Regions from separate parts of the Homo sapiens genome. Here region 1 is linked to region 2. Evidence: promoter capture Hi-C in human tissues and cell types (Jung and others, 2019). All regions are on one chromosome and are shown on one strand. The core of a region is centred on a gene start or on the middle of the fragment in contact, and the rest is flanking DNA. Distances in the headings are between cores, read along the strand shown. Region 1 overlaps FREM2 (FRAS1 related extracellular matrix 2). Region 2 holds the start of FREM2 (FRAS1 related extracellular matrix 2).

Evidence for each region. The method cuts DNA at HindIII sites, captures the fragments that hold promoters and counts their contacts. A contact is called where the count stands out against the background at its distance.
Region 1: a fragment that was not itself captured here is called in contact with the fragment with the promoter of FREM2 in region 2 in 2 of the 25 tissues and cell types used here (aorta and dorsolateral prefrontal cortex).

What each region holds. Positions count from the first base shown.
Region 1 is chr13:38,813,987-38,820,278 of GRCh38, forward strand. All of the region lies in intron 6 of FREM2 (FRAS1 related extracellular matrix 2), which reads left to right. Among named protein-coding and RNA genes, the nearest start is that of FREM2-AS1, 10 kb to the right of the region's middle. The HindIII fragment of the contact is 3,855 bases long and covers 2,979-6,292 here.
Region 2 is chr13:38,681,569-38,688,602 of GRCh38, forward strand. It overlaps FREM2 (FRAS1 related extracellular matrix 2), which reads left to right and starts at 5,509. Exons shown (of 24, transcript NM_207361.6): 1 at 5,509-7,034. The coding sequence starts at 5,777. It overlaps LINC00437 (long intergenic non-protein coding RNA 437), which reads right to left and starts at 5,107. Exons shown (of 3, transcript NR_126377.1): 1 at 4,871-5,107; 2 at 2,119-2,219. The HindIII fragment of the contact is 7,279 bases long and covers 760-7,034 here.

The DNA.
Region 1 (6,292 bases), core at 3,656-6,155, 130 kb after region 2:
ATGCATTCTTCATGATGTCGCCTACATTTTTCAAGTCTATAATTTCTGTTTGATTCTTTTTTAATTATTTTAGTCTATTTGTTAAATTTATCTGATATTCTGAATTCCTTCTCTGTGTTGTCTTAAATTTCTTCAAGTCTCTTCAAAATAGCTCTTTTGAATTCTCTGAGAAGACATACATCTCTGTTTCTCCAGGATTGGTCCCTGGTGCTTTATATAGTTCATTTGGTGAGGTCTTGTTTTCCTGGATGGTATTGATGCTTGTAGATACTTGTCAGTGTCTGGGCATTGAAGAGTTAGGTATTTATTGTGGTTTTCACAGTCTGGGCTTATTTGTGCCTGTCCTTCTTTGGAAGACTTTCCAAGTATTCAAAGGCACTTGGGCCTCAAGCCCAAGACACTGTGATTTTTGCAGACTCATAGAGGTAGCACCTTGGTGGTCTTGGCTGAGATCCAGAGCAGTTCTCTGGATTACAAGGCAGAGGCTCTTGTTCTTCTCCCTTTCTTTCTGCCAAACATATAGCGTCTCTGTCTCTGTGCTGAGCCACCTGGAACCTGGGGTGTGGTGAGGAAGCACACCTGTGGCCACCACTGTTGGAACTATGCTGAGTCACACCTGAAGCCTGTAAAGTACTGAGCCTTGCCCAAGGCCCTTCACTTCAGAATGGCAAGTTTCCCCAGGCCCCAAATGTGTCCAGGGATGCTGTCTGGGAGCCAGGGATTAGAATCAAAAACTTTAGCAACTTACCTGATGTTCTATTCTACTGCAGTTAAGCTGATATTCAAACCACAATGCAAAGTGCTTGCTGCTCTTCTCTCCCCTTTTCGCAGTCAGAGGAGCCTCTCCCTGGGACCACCACCACCACTGATCCATGGGGGGCTCTACTAGGCCACCACCAATGTTGGCATAAAGCCCAAGGGCTTTTCTCTTAGCTTGTGGTGAATGCTGGCAGGCACAGGACTCAGCCTTCAGGACAGTGGGCTCCCCTCTGGCCCAGGGAAGGTTTTGAAGTGCTGTGCAAGAATCTAGACCTTGACTCAGGGACCCTAAGGGCCTGCTTGTTGTTCTACCCCATTGTGGCAGAGCTGGTGCTGATTTTTGGCTCTTGTGGTGGTGCTTTTCTGTGTACACATGGTTGCTAAAATTTGGTGTTCCTAGGTGGAGGGAACAAATGGTATAGCCTTCTATTCCACAATCTTGCTCTACTTCCCATGAATTGTTTTTATTTCATTGCGTTGTTTTACTGGGTTCCTTGTATCTGGCTGTTTCCTTAAGATCATTGTTTTGAAATTTTCAGGCATTTTGTACATGCCTTTTTCTTTGGTTTCTCTTACTAGAGAAATGTTTTGTTCCCTTGTAGAAGGCAAGAAACAAATCTCAGAATAGAAAAGAAATGGAAGCTAAAAAAATTCAGAAGATCAACAAAATGAAGAGTTAATTTCTTGAAACAATAACAAACTTGAAAAACCTTTAGCTAGACTAAGAAATAAAAGAAGACAAAATTAGATATTAAACAAGAGACATTACAACTGATACCACAGAAATACAAAGGATGATGAGAGGCTGCTTTAAACAACTATATGCCAACAAATTTGATAACATAGTCCATTTGAGATTACCCGAGGCTGGGTAATTTATAAGGATACGAGGACTATTTGGCACACAGTTCTGCAGGTACAAAAAAGCATGGTGCTAGCACCTGTTCAGTTTTTGATGAGGGACTCAGGCTGCTTTCACTCATGGCAGAAGGTAAAGAGGAGCCAGAAGGTGCAAGATCCCATAGTGAGAGATCCCAAGCTTTTTAACAACCAGCTTTGGGGAGAACTAATAAAATGAGAACTCACTTACATCCACCAAGGGAGGACATTAATCTATTTATGAGGGATCTGTACCCATAACCCAAACACTTCCCATAGACCCCACCTCTGATATTGAAACCAAATTTCAACATGAGATTTGGTGGGGACAAACAAACCATATCCAAACTACAGTAGAAGAAATGGATAAATTCCTGGACACATACAACCTGTCAAGATTGAACCATGAAGAAATAGAAAATCTGAGCAGGTCAGTAATGACTGAGGACATTGAATCAGTAATAAAAAGTCCTCCATCAAAGAAGAGCTCAGGACTGGACAGATTCCCAGCTGAATTCTACCAAACATTTAATAAAGAACTAATACCAATTCTTCTCAAACTATTCCAAAAAATTGAAGAGGAAGGAATACTTCCAAAGTTATCTTACGAGGCTGGAATTACCCTGATTTCAAAATCAAACAATCACATAACAACAAAGAAAAACTACAGGTTAGGATCTCCAGTGAACATAGATGTGAAAATTCTTAACGAGATGCTAGCAAACTGAATCCAACAGCATATTAAACAAATCATTCACTGTGGTCAAGTGGAGTTTATTCCAGAGATGCATGGATGGTTTAACATTTGCAAACCAATAAATGTGATATGCACATTAACGGAAAGAATTATTTTTTAAAATATCATTTCAATAGAGGCAGAAAAAGCATTTGATAAAAATTTACTATCATGATTAAAACGCTCAAGAAATTAGATTCACATGGTACTTACCTCAATGCAGTAACAGCCATATATGACAAACACACAGCTAACATCATACAGAGTGAGGAAAAATTGTAAGCTTTTCCTGTAAGGTCAGGAACTAGACAAAGATGCCCGCTTTTACCATTTCTATTTAATGTAGTAAATGAAGACCTAGCCGGAGCAATTAGGCAAGAGAAAGAAATAAAAGGCATTCAAATTTGAAAGGAGGAAGCTAAGTGCCCTGTTTGCAGATGACATGATCTTATATATAGAAAACCTTAAAGACTCCATTGAAAAACAGAACTAATAAACAAACTCAGTAAAGTCGCAGTATACAAAGTAAACATACAAAAATCAGTAGCATTTCTATATGCTCTTAGTGAACTATCTGAAAAAGAAATCAAGAAAACAGTTTCATTTACAATAGCTACAAAAAAGATACCTAGTAATAAATTTAGTCAAGGAGGTGAAAAATCTTTATACTGAGGCTATAAAACTTTGATGAAAGAAATGTAAAATAATACAAATACATGGAAAGATATCCTATATTTGTGGATTGTAAGAATTAATGTCATAAAATGGCCAAACTACTCAAAGCGATGTACAGATTAATGCAATTCCTATCAAAATGCCAATGGCATTCTTCACAAAAATAGAAATAAACAATTCTAAAATTTATCTAGAACAAAAGACCCAAAACAACCAAAGCAATCCTGTGCAAAAAGAACAAAGCTGGAAGCTTCATACTACCTCACTTCAAAATATACTACAAAGCTATAGTAAGTACAGAACAACATGGTGCTGGCATGAAAAACAGACACATAGACCAATGGAATAGAATATAGAACCCAGAAGTAAATTTACACACCTACAACCAACTGATTTTCAACAAATGTACCAAAAATACATGTTGGGGAAAAGACAATCTTTTCAATAAATGGTATTGGGAAAATTAGTTTATCTACGTGCAGAAGAATGAAACTAGATCCCTACCTCTCACTATATATAAAAATCAACTCAAAATGGATTAAGGATCTTAGTGTAAAATCTGAAGCTAACAGAAGAAAACATAGGAGAAACACATCAGAGCATTGGGCTGGGCAAGGACTTTTTAGATAAGACTTCAAAAGGATAGTCAACAAAAGGAAAAATAGGCATATAGGATTATATCAAACTAAAAAGCTTTTCCATAGCAACAGAAACTGTTAAGAGAGTGAAGAGACAACCTACAGAATGGGAGAAAATATTTGCAAACTATAGATGCGAAAACGGGTTAATATCTAGAATATATAAGGGACATAATAGCAAAACAACAATAACAATATTAATCAAAAATGGGCAAAAGGCCATTTTTCAAAATAAGACATACAAATGACAAACAGGTATATAAAAAATGTTCAACATTGCTAACCATCAGAGAAACACAAACCAAAACCAAAATAAGATACCATCTCACTTCAGTTAGAATGGCTATTATAAAAAAAGACAAGTGTTGGTGAGAATGTGGAGAAAAGGGAACACTGACGTACTGTTGGTGAGGTTGTAAGCTAGTACAGCCATTATGGAATACAGTATGGCGGTTCCTCAATTAACTAGAAATAGGATTCCCATATTATTCAGCAATCCCACAGTTGAGTATTTACTGAAAATATTTGAAATCCATATGTTGAAGAGGTATCTGCATGCCCATGTTTATTGCAGCACTATTTACAATAGCTAAGATATGGACTCAACCTAAGTATTCAACAATGGATGAATAGATGAAAAAATGTGGTATAAAAACCCAACAGAATACTATACAGTCATAAAACATAATGAAATCCTATCATTTGAGACAACATGGGTGAACCTGGAGGACACCATGTTAAGTGAAATAAGCCAGACACAGAAAGACAAATACCACATGATGTCACTCATATGTGGAATCTACAAAGGAAAAAAAGTTGATATCATTGAAGCAGAGAATAGAACTGTGGTTATCAGAGATTGGGAAAAGGAGAAAGGAGAGGTAGATGGAGAAAGGTTGATTAATAGGTACATGTTACAATTACATAGAAGGAATAAATTCCAGTGTTCTATTGCACAGTAGTGTGACTATGGTTAACAATAAAATATTATATATTATAAAAAAGCTGACTGGACATGATGGCTCATGCCTGTAATCCCAGCACTTTGGGAGGTTGAGGCAGGTGGATCACCTGAGATCAGGAGTTTGAGACCAGCCTGGCCAACATAGTGAAACCCCGTCTTTACTAAAAATACAAAAATTAGTGGGGCAGAGGTTGCAGTGAGCCAAGATCGCACCACTACACTCTAGTCTGGGCAACAGAGCAAGCCTCCGTCTCAAAAAAAAAATGCTAGAAGAAAGGCTTTTGAGTGTTCTCATCACAAAGAGATAATGCATGATGTGCTGGATATACTAACTACCCTTATTGTGTCATTATACAATACAGAAATATATCAAAACATCAAGTTGCACCTCATAAATATGGGAAATTACAGAGTGTCAATTAAAAAACAAATTTAAAAACAAAGAAGAAGGCAAATGAGCAAAGATCAGAGACTGCTGTAGTGGGTTTGTTAGCAATAGGAGTCCATTTGACTCAACCTGTTATGGCCAGAACCTCCAAAGGCCCTGGCTGCTATGCTGCTGTGCGCTTGCCTGGTCTTTTTGAAACTGTTGATACAATGCACTGCTCACCACAGGAAAAGCATTAAAGAGCTTTGTTCCACTGCACACACACAAGCTTGGCAAGCAGCCACTTGAATTTCTCCTGCTAGTCACATAAAAACATTTCACCACCATTACCAGAAAAGGCAAAGGCTCCAAACTTCTTTATGAGAAAAACTAACCATTTTGTATAATTTACACTGAAGAATGACCTTTCTCCCCACAAGAAAGTGAGCACAGGGAGCTGTGGCAGGACATAGGGCTGGTTCACCCAGAAATGAGCCCTCAAATTCATGGAGTGTAAATTTACAGATATGTAGTCTGCTAGAGTGGTTTTAGGATATCAAGGTTGTGGTACCGATTAGGATCATGCTGTTCACAATATTAAATTAACTTATGTCTTTATTTTTTAGGGCTTTGTAGATATCATATATTTTTATATAATCATAGCTATCATGAACACCTTCCAAGATGTGCTAAATCTTTTACCTGAATTATTTAATACACATATGCACATACACAAATTATGAGCCAAGTTTTATTATGCCTGGGTTTTATCATCTGTGAGTGGTTGGATAACTTGCCCAAGGTCAAACAGCCGGTAAGCATTTAGCCAGCCTGACTAAAGAGACTATGGCATTAACAACTACGCAGCACACTTCATATTATACTAGCAGTAAGTATATTTAATATACACAATGACCTTCTGATTCTACAATGTAATACTCAAAGTTATTATTAGTTATCCTAATAGGGAAGTTTACAAGATGAAACAAGCTATATATACTTTTATAGACATATAGCACCTGAATATTGATAATTGAAATGTCATAGATAATAGAATAACTTGTAAATGAACTATTCTTGTTGATCTTTTATCAATTATAACTCCCCTTGGATCTTTAGCAAAGCTTATTAGTGCAGTCTCAATCTGGTACTTCAATTGGACAAGGAATAGCACTGCTTTTTCCACATCATCTAGCAAATGACCCGGTGAAAATGGTTGCCTTTCTGAAAGATTGCATTTTGGCTCTCTTGTCAAGTCCTCGTGGATAAATATT
Region 2 (7,034 bases), core at 4,259-6,758:
GGCACAAGAACACAGGCAAGTGTAACACAGCTTATGGTAGCAGAGAGTGGCCTCACATGAGAAATACACAATGGAGTTGGTGCAAAAGGAAGAAGGTGGTGAAAAACAGTTAAAAGTTGCGCAGTTTGTATTAAAGTGCATAGATGACAAAGATTCCACGGAAAAGGAAGGATTTGACATCATCCTTGCAGGTCAAACTGTCCATAATGTAGGATATAGACACCAGTCCTTGGAATCAGGAATCTCTCATTCTTTTCAGCTTGATTCCCAGGTCTTAACCTCCTTGTCTCTGTTTCCTCTAATATGAAATGAGGAAGCATTACATGGTCTGTAAGGCTGACTGATTCCCAAGGACAGACAGGGATAATGTTACAGAAGAAAAAAAAGAGCAGAGTGAACCAACAATTAAGGGTAAAAACATGTGAGATGAGGAAAGGTCTAGAAGCAAGACAGTTGGTGTGTTCACAAAAAAATCTGTAGTTTAGTATGGAAAGTAAAGATGAAGAGAATGAGTTTCATTCAATAAGCAATGAGAGGTTATAATTCAAAGAAACTTGGATGTAAAATAATGGTGAACTGAGCTAGGATAATGACAGACAGTAGTGGAAAGAGAAGACAGTTGTAAGATACACTGTGGAAACAGATTTTCCCCAACTTGATGGACTGGAGAGAGAGATAGGAGTTGTGGTCAAGGTAACTTGTGACGTTACCTTATAGAAGGTTCATGAGTCAGTTTGATGAAAAAGTTGAAGAAGCAGATGTACATGATTCACAGGATTCTGAAAGACACAGATGTGTGCAAAGATTGCGGGGCTATCTTAGTTAAGGGAGAATGCTATTCTACAGATGAGAAAAATTAAGCATAATTGTAATCAAAGATGGAGCAACTAGAAAGACTGGAAATACAGATAAATGAAAACTAATAACCAATAGATATAATTGATAGGTATATTATCATTTATGATAATGAAACATTCTAATCTTTCATTTAAATTATAAGAAATAAATCTAAAAAATACACAGAGAGAGAGAGAGAAAAGAGAGAAAGGTGTTTGAAAAAAATGATCCTTTCTCTTCATTTCCACTTTGCATATATACCTATACATAAACACATATTTCATTTTATATTTGTATATAAATGACCTCCTCCTCAATTACACATTTTTAGAGATGTGTAATTGAGCAAATGGAAAGGCCAGTTTCAAAACAGGTTTTCTGGCTTCTAGTCCAGTGCTCTTTCTTCTTCCCCACATAGACTCCCATCTGAACATAGCTTTGTCTGGAAAGTCTGGGCGCTTGTGAAGCCATATGTTACTCAATAATAAATCCATCTTGAAAATTCGCCTATCCTTATGATGAGTTTAATTAAGTTTTGCATTTCTAGACTTTTATTTCAATTTTATTTTTTATTTAAAAATAGTTACTTAGAGATGTTGTATTTAAGCTGTCCACGTCAATTAATACAAATGTTGTTCTGTATATTTTACAGCAAGCAAATGGAAAGGCCAGTTTCAAAACAGGTTTTCTGGCTTCTAGTCCAGTGCTCTTTCTTCTTCCCCACATAGACTCCCATCTGAACATAGCTTTGTCTGGAAAGTCTGGGCGCTTGTGAAGCCATATGTTACTCAATAATAAATCCATCTTGAAAATTCGCCTATCCTTATGATGAGTTTAATTAAGTTTTGCATTTCTAGACTTTTATTTCAATTTTATTTTTTATTTAAAAATAGTTACTTAGAGATGTTGTATTTAAGCTGTCCACGTCAATTAATACAAATGTTGTTCTGTATATTTTAGGCAGAAACAATTGAGCCGTTCGCAAGGGGCATGAATTTGAGTTCTACATTTTCTGACCTAGTAGCAGTGATACATTTTTGATTAGTAGTGTTTCTGGCAAGAATGAGACCTATAGCCAATGGCCAAGGGACATGAGGAAGCAAAATAGCAGGTCGTCCATAAATTTGGTCTTATGCCACAAGCTTATTAAAACCAAAAGGGAATTTGTCCACAAAGACTGACTCTCTTGTTTTACAGTTGAGAAGACTATAGTTGCAAAACATAAAGAGGATTGCTGTAAGTCATAATTTAGTGGATGTCAAAACCGCTACTGGAACCCACCTCTTGGTTAATGAGTCCGTAGCTGTTTGTCCTCACCCCTCAGTGCTGCTCTGAAATCGATGAAGTTTTGTGTTTATGGTCAAACCATGGTTTTGATGCCACTGAAGAATAAGCATTTGTTGAGAATGAATAAAGATGTTTCACAAGAAACTTCAATAATTCATCTGTAAGTATTTTAAAAGTGTCTATAAGGCAATCTTCTCTATTGGAATCTTATGACCCGGTGGAGAAGCATAAGGAAAATGAAATAAACTATATAATGAAAACTATAATTCTCAAAATTTAACTAGATGTATTTTTAGTTCCAGTCTGACCTCCAGTCCTAGACCTACTAGGTATTAGGTATTTCCTACTAATAGGTAGTAGTTAGGTAATAGTTAGGTAGACCTACTAGGTACTAGGTATTAGGTATTAGGTATTTCCACCTAAATACCTTGCCTGAATCATAAATTAATTACATTGCTTCCTTTATTTTAGAAAACAAGTTCTCTAGTGCTTAATCTTAGTCTGTGAGTTTTAGCAATCAATAATTTTAACTCTAAGTTGATATGAGACAACACTTTGGTATGACTTTAAAGTAGCAAACAAATTTAAGAATGTATTTTAAGGAATATTTTGCCCATGGTATGTATAGGAAGCGTTATAAGGCTTAAGGAAGTAAGAAGTGAAGTGTTAAGCTCGAATTTTGTAAAAAAAAAAAAAAAAAAAAAATCACATTTGCTAACTTATTCTTCATGAAATTGAGTGATATTGAGAACGCTGACTGTAAAATAATAATTTTCTTGCTATTTTAGCATTCATATCTTTTAACACTGAACTAGGAGCCTAAACAGAGATGATCTTCATCAATAATATTTGCTCTCAAATAAAAATTTGACATCTCATTGTTTTGTCAATGATCATCAATGTAAAATATATTTAGCCAAATGATAGTTTGAGTTACCTTCTATTTGATTTACAAGACAAATAACTAAGACATTTACCAAAAAATAATAATAATCTCTAAAAATCATTCTATCACTTCGATCAAGGCAGACAAAATTAAAAAGTCAAAAAGATTATAGTTTATTGATTTCCTTAGGCTATGTAAAAATAAATGTGGTCCTGTATTTTTCTTACCATGAAACAAAATATTGAACTCTGCCCTTGAGGCATACTACCATACTTCAAATGCTGATCTTATCATTGCTTGCAAGTCAAACAGAGTTGGACTTTAAAAGGAGGAAAGGAAAACCCTGGAGCCACTAAGAAGCATCAAGGGTCAAGCTGTTAGTCTGGTTCTGCTCAGAATTTACCCAGGGTCACAATGCCTGGATAAGGCCACTTTGCTTCCAGATGACATTTTTCAATACAAACACACAACCAGAATTTGAAATTTACTATAAAAAGAGCCATATTCTGAAATTGGTTTTCTAGTTTACTTGGCATCTTATTTGTTTTAATTTGGAACAGGAAATAGCAGAATTTCCCCCCATGTTCCGCATTTTGAATTCTGTATGCGATAATAAATAATCATATAAATTATAAAATAATAATGACAAAGCAAATAGGAAATTGGTAAAGAGTTAGATGGGGGATTTTCTAATGTATTTAAAGTAAGGGCCACATCCCTTCTATGCTCCTGGATGCCCATTTTGTAATAAATTGTGAAATGTATCCATCAGTTTCTAAGTTGTAGTTAAAAGCTCCTCAAACAATGCACAGCACACAGAATAATCTTAATTAATATTTAATTAACTAAATGTTACTTGTTTGCGTGCTTGCACACTTGCTTGGATGAGTGACTCCTTTAAATTGATCTCTTGCTTCTTTTTGAAAGATTTTAGAACTTCCTGTCTATGATTCCTGGAAACGGACACCACTCAGTAGGTTTCATGGAAAGGAATCTGGCATCTCCCAGCCATACTTATGTACAGAGTTTGTGCTGCAGCCTGGAAAATAGCTGTAACTGTGTCAAGCAAGGATCAAAATCCTGGTCTGGAGGAGCTCAAGCTGAAAACACAAAGGCTTAAAAGGATAGGCACTTCTTACTGAAATTACTCCCATAGGCACCTTCTAGCTTCAATTTAGACTGAAATGTAAAAAGACATTAACAATTTCTTATATTTCCCTCTTTTCCAAATTCAAAATCCCTTGGAGCAGGAAAAGGGCAATTATGGCTAATTATGACTATTACTCCAATTCTATGCTCCTGTTAGCAATCAGATTTGCATTACTGGAGAAAAAAAATATTATCCTAAATAAAACATTCTGACTATGATTGCTTAGGAGCCAATCCGAAAATGATTAAGTTTAAATTACAAGGGATCTTTTTTGAGGGGGGGAGGAGAGTTGATAAAAAAACCTTTTAGAAAGGGAATCTACACACTACTAAAACCAAACAAACACAAGGGGGCAGGAAGAGCTCAAGCTCTGACTTCAAAACCTGTTGGCTGAAATGAGAGCTAAACTATTTTAGTGTGCCCTCCGGATATTTATCAATTTTCGTGGCATGCAAAGAAATGTGATGCTGACAAGTAGATTTAGTTTGTGCTTGGTCTAATTACTGCGAAGAGAACAGGAACGTCTCTAATGACAGCTACCCTAACAGAGTCGGATTTGGGAGCGCCTGGGGCCACATTCCCTAGAATTTATTCTTTGGTGCAAGACTAGCAATTCTGATCAGACTGCATTTCTCACGCATTCCAAATGCCCTTTTTCCCTTTTACTCTGTGAACCTCGGTTGCAAAGGAGGGGCTTGTTAAAAACTCACCAATCGGAGGACTGTGCCCATTGTAATTCACGAGGAGAAGGCAGCGTCTGGGCGCGCCGAAGGGGGCTGGGCTGGAGTGCAACCTGCTCTAGCTATGGCTTTTAATTCCAGCTGTCCTTTTGCAAATATGCCCCAGAATTTCTTCTCAAACGCTCTGGGTTTCGCTTCAAACTCAAAAAGCATTGCGTCTAACTTTCCCCTGGGTTTGCAAGTTTCCTTGGGAAATGGCCATGCCCTGCGCGGGATTTCATTGACTAGGGCGGAGGGGTGGGGGTGGCTAAAATGGGTAACCCTCGGTCGCCGGCAGATGAAGTGAACCCAGCACAGCAGTGTGTTCCGGCTCCTCTGCAGGAGTACCAGATCTATTAATAGCAGCCCAGAGAGTAGCGCAAGCAGGGGTGGGCAACTCCTGGCCACTTCTTCCCTCACTTCCAGGACAACCTGTTGCGCCTCTATCTCCTCCCCTCCCCGCAGTTTCCCCGCCTTGGCCTCTAAGAGCTGATTGGCAGAAATTACTACCCAACCCTCAGCTCCGCACCTCCTCCCCCGACCAACGATTGGCCACCTGGGAGGACTGGAGTAAGGGGTGCGAGCGGAGGGATTTCCCTCAAAGCCCAGGGTCCGGGGACCTGGAAAGTAGAAGTGGAGGGATTCAATTCTCCGCGCGATTGAGGCGCTAGCGGCGGAGCTGGACGGCCTGGGAAGGCTTCGGCTCCTCGGCTGCGGCTCCAGCCCGGACGGCGCCGCGCAACTTTGCCATCCTTCTGGCCCAGCCCCGGCTACAGGAGGACCCCGCGGGCAACGCGCGGAGTTCCTGGCACTTCCCGGCGGTGTCTCTTGTTGTCTGCCCGGGGACCGACTTCGCATGCTCTCAGGCTGACCTGTCCAAGCCCGAACACCGGGACCATGCACTCAGCCGGGACTCCCGGGTTATCCTCGCGCCGGACAGGCAACTCCACCAGCTTTCAACCAGGACCGCCACCGCCGCCCCGGCTGCTGCTGCTGCTGCTGCTTCTCCTGTCACTGGTAAGCCGCGTCCCGGCACAGCCCGCTGCCTTCGGCAGGGCGTTGCTGTCCCCTGGTCTCGCGGGGGCTGCAGGGGTCCCTGCTGAGGAGGCCATAGTGCTGGCGAACCGCGGACTCCGGGTGCCTTTCGGCCGTGAAGTCTGGCTGGATCCCCTGCATGACCTGGTGTTGCAGGTGCAGCCCGGGGACCGCTGCGCGGTTTCGGTACTAGACAACGACGCACTGGCCCAGCGACCGGGCCGCCTGAGTCCCAAGCGCTTCCCGTGCGACTTTGGCCCTGGCGAGGTGCGCTACTCTCACCTGGGCGCGCGCAGCCCGTCTCGGGACCGCGTCCGGCTGCAGCTGCGCTATGACGCGCCCGGAGGGGCAGTAGTGCTACCACTGGTACTGGAGGTGGAGGTGGTCTTCACCCAGCTGGAGGTTGTGACTCGGAACTTGCCTCTGGTCGTGGAAGAGCTGCTGGGGACCAGCAATGCCCTGGACGCGCGGAGCCTGGAGTTCGCCTTCCAGCCCGAGACAGAGGAGTGCCGCGTGGGCATCCTGTCCGGCTTGGGCGCGCTGCCTCGCTATGGAGAACTCCTCCACTACCCGCAGGTCCCTGGAGGAGCCAGAGAGGGAGGCGCCCCGGAGACTCTCCTGATGGACTGCAAAGCTTTCCAGGAACTAGGCGTGCGCTATCGCCACACAGCCGCCAGTCGCTCACCAAACAGGGACTGGATACCCATGGTGGTGGAGCTGCGTTCACGAGGGGCTCCTGTGGGCAGCCCTGCTTTGAAACGCGAGCACTTCCAGGTTCTGGTGAGGATCCGAGGAGGGGCCGAGAACACTGCACCCAAGCCCAGTTTCGTGGCCATGATGATGATGGAGGTGGACCAGTTTGTACTGACGGCCCTGACCCCAGACATGCTGGCAGCCGAGGATGCTGAGTCTCCCTCTGACCTGTTGATCTTCAACCTTACTTCTCCATTCCAGCCTGGCCAGGGCTACTTGGTGAGCACCGATGATCGCAGCCTGCCCCTTTCCTCCTTCACTCAGAGGGATCTGCGGCTCCTGAAGATTGCCTACCAGCCCCCTTCTGAAGACTCTGACCAGGAGCGCCTCTTTGAACTGGAATTGGAGGTAGTGGATCTAGAAGGAG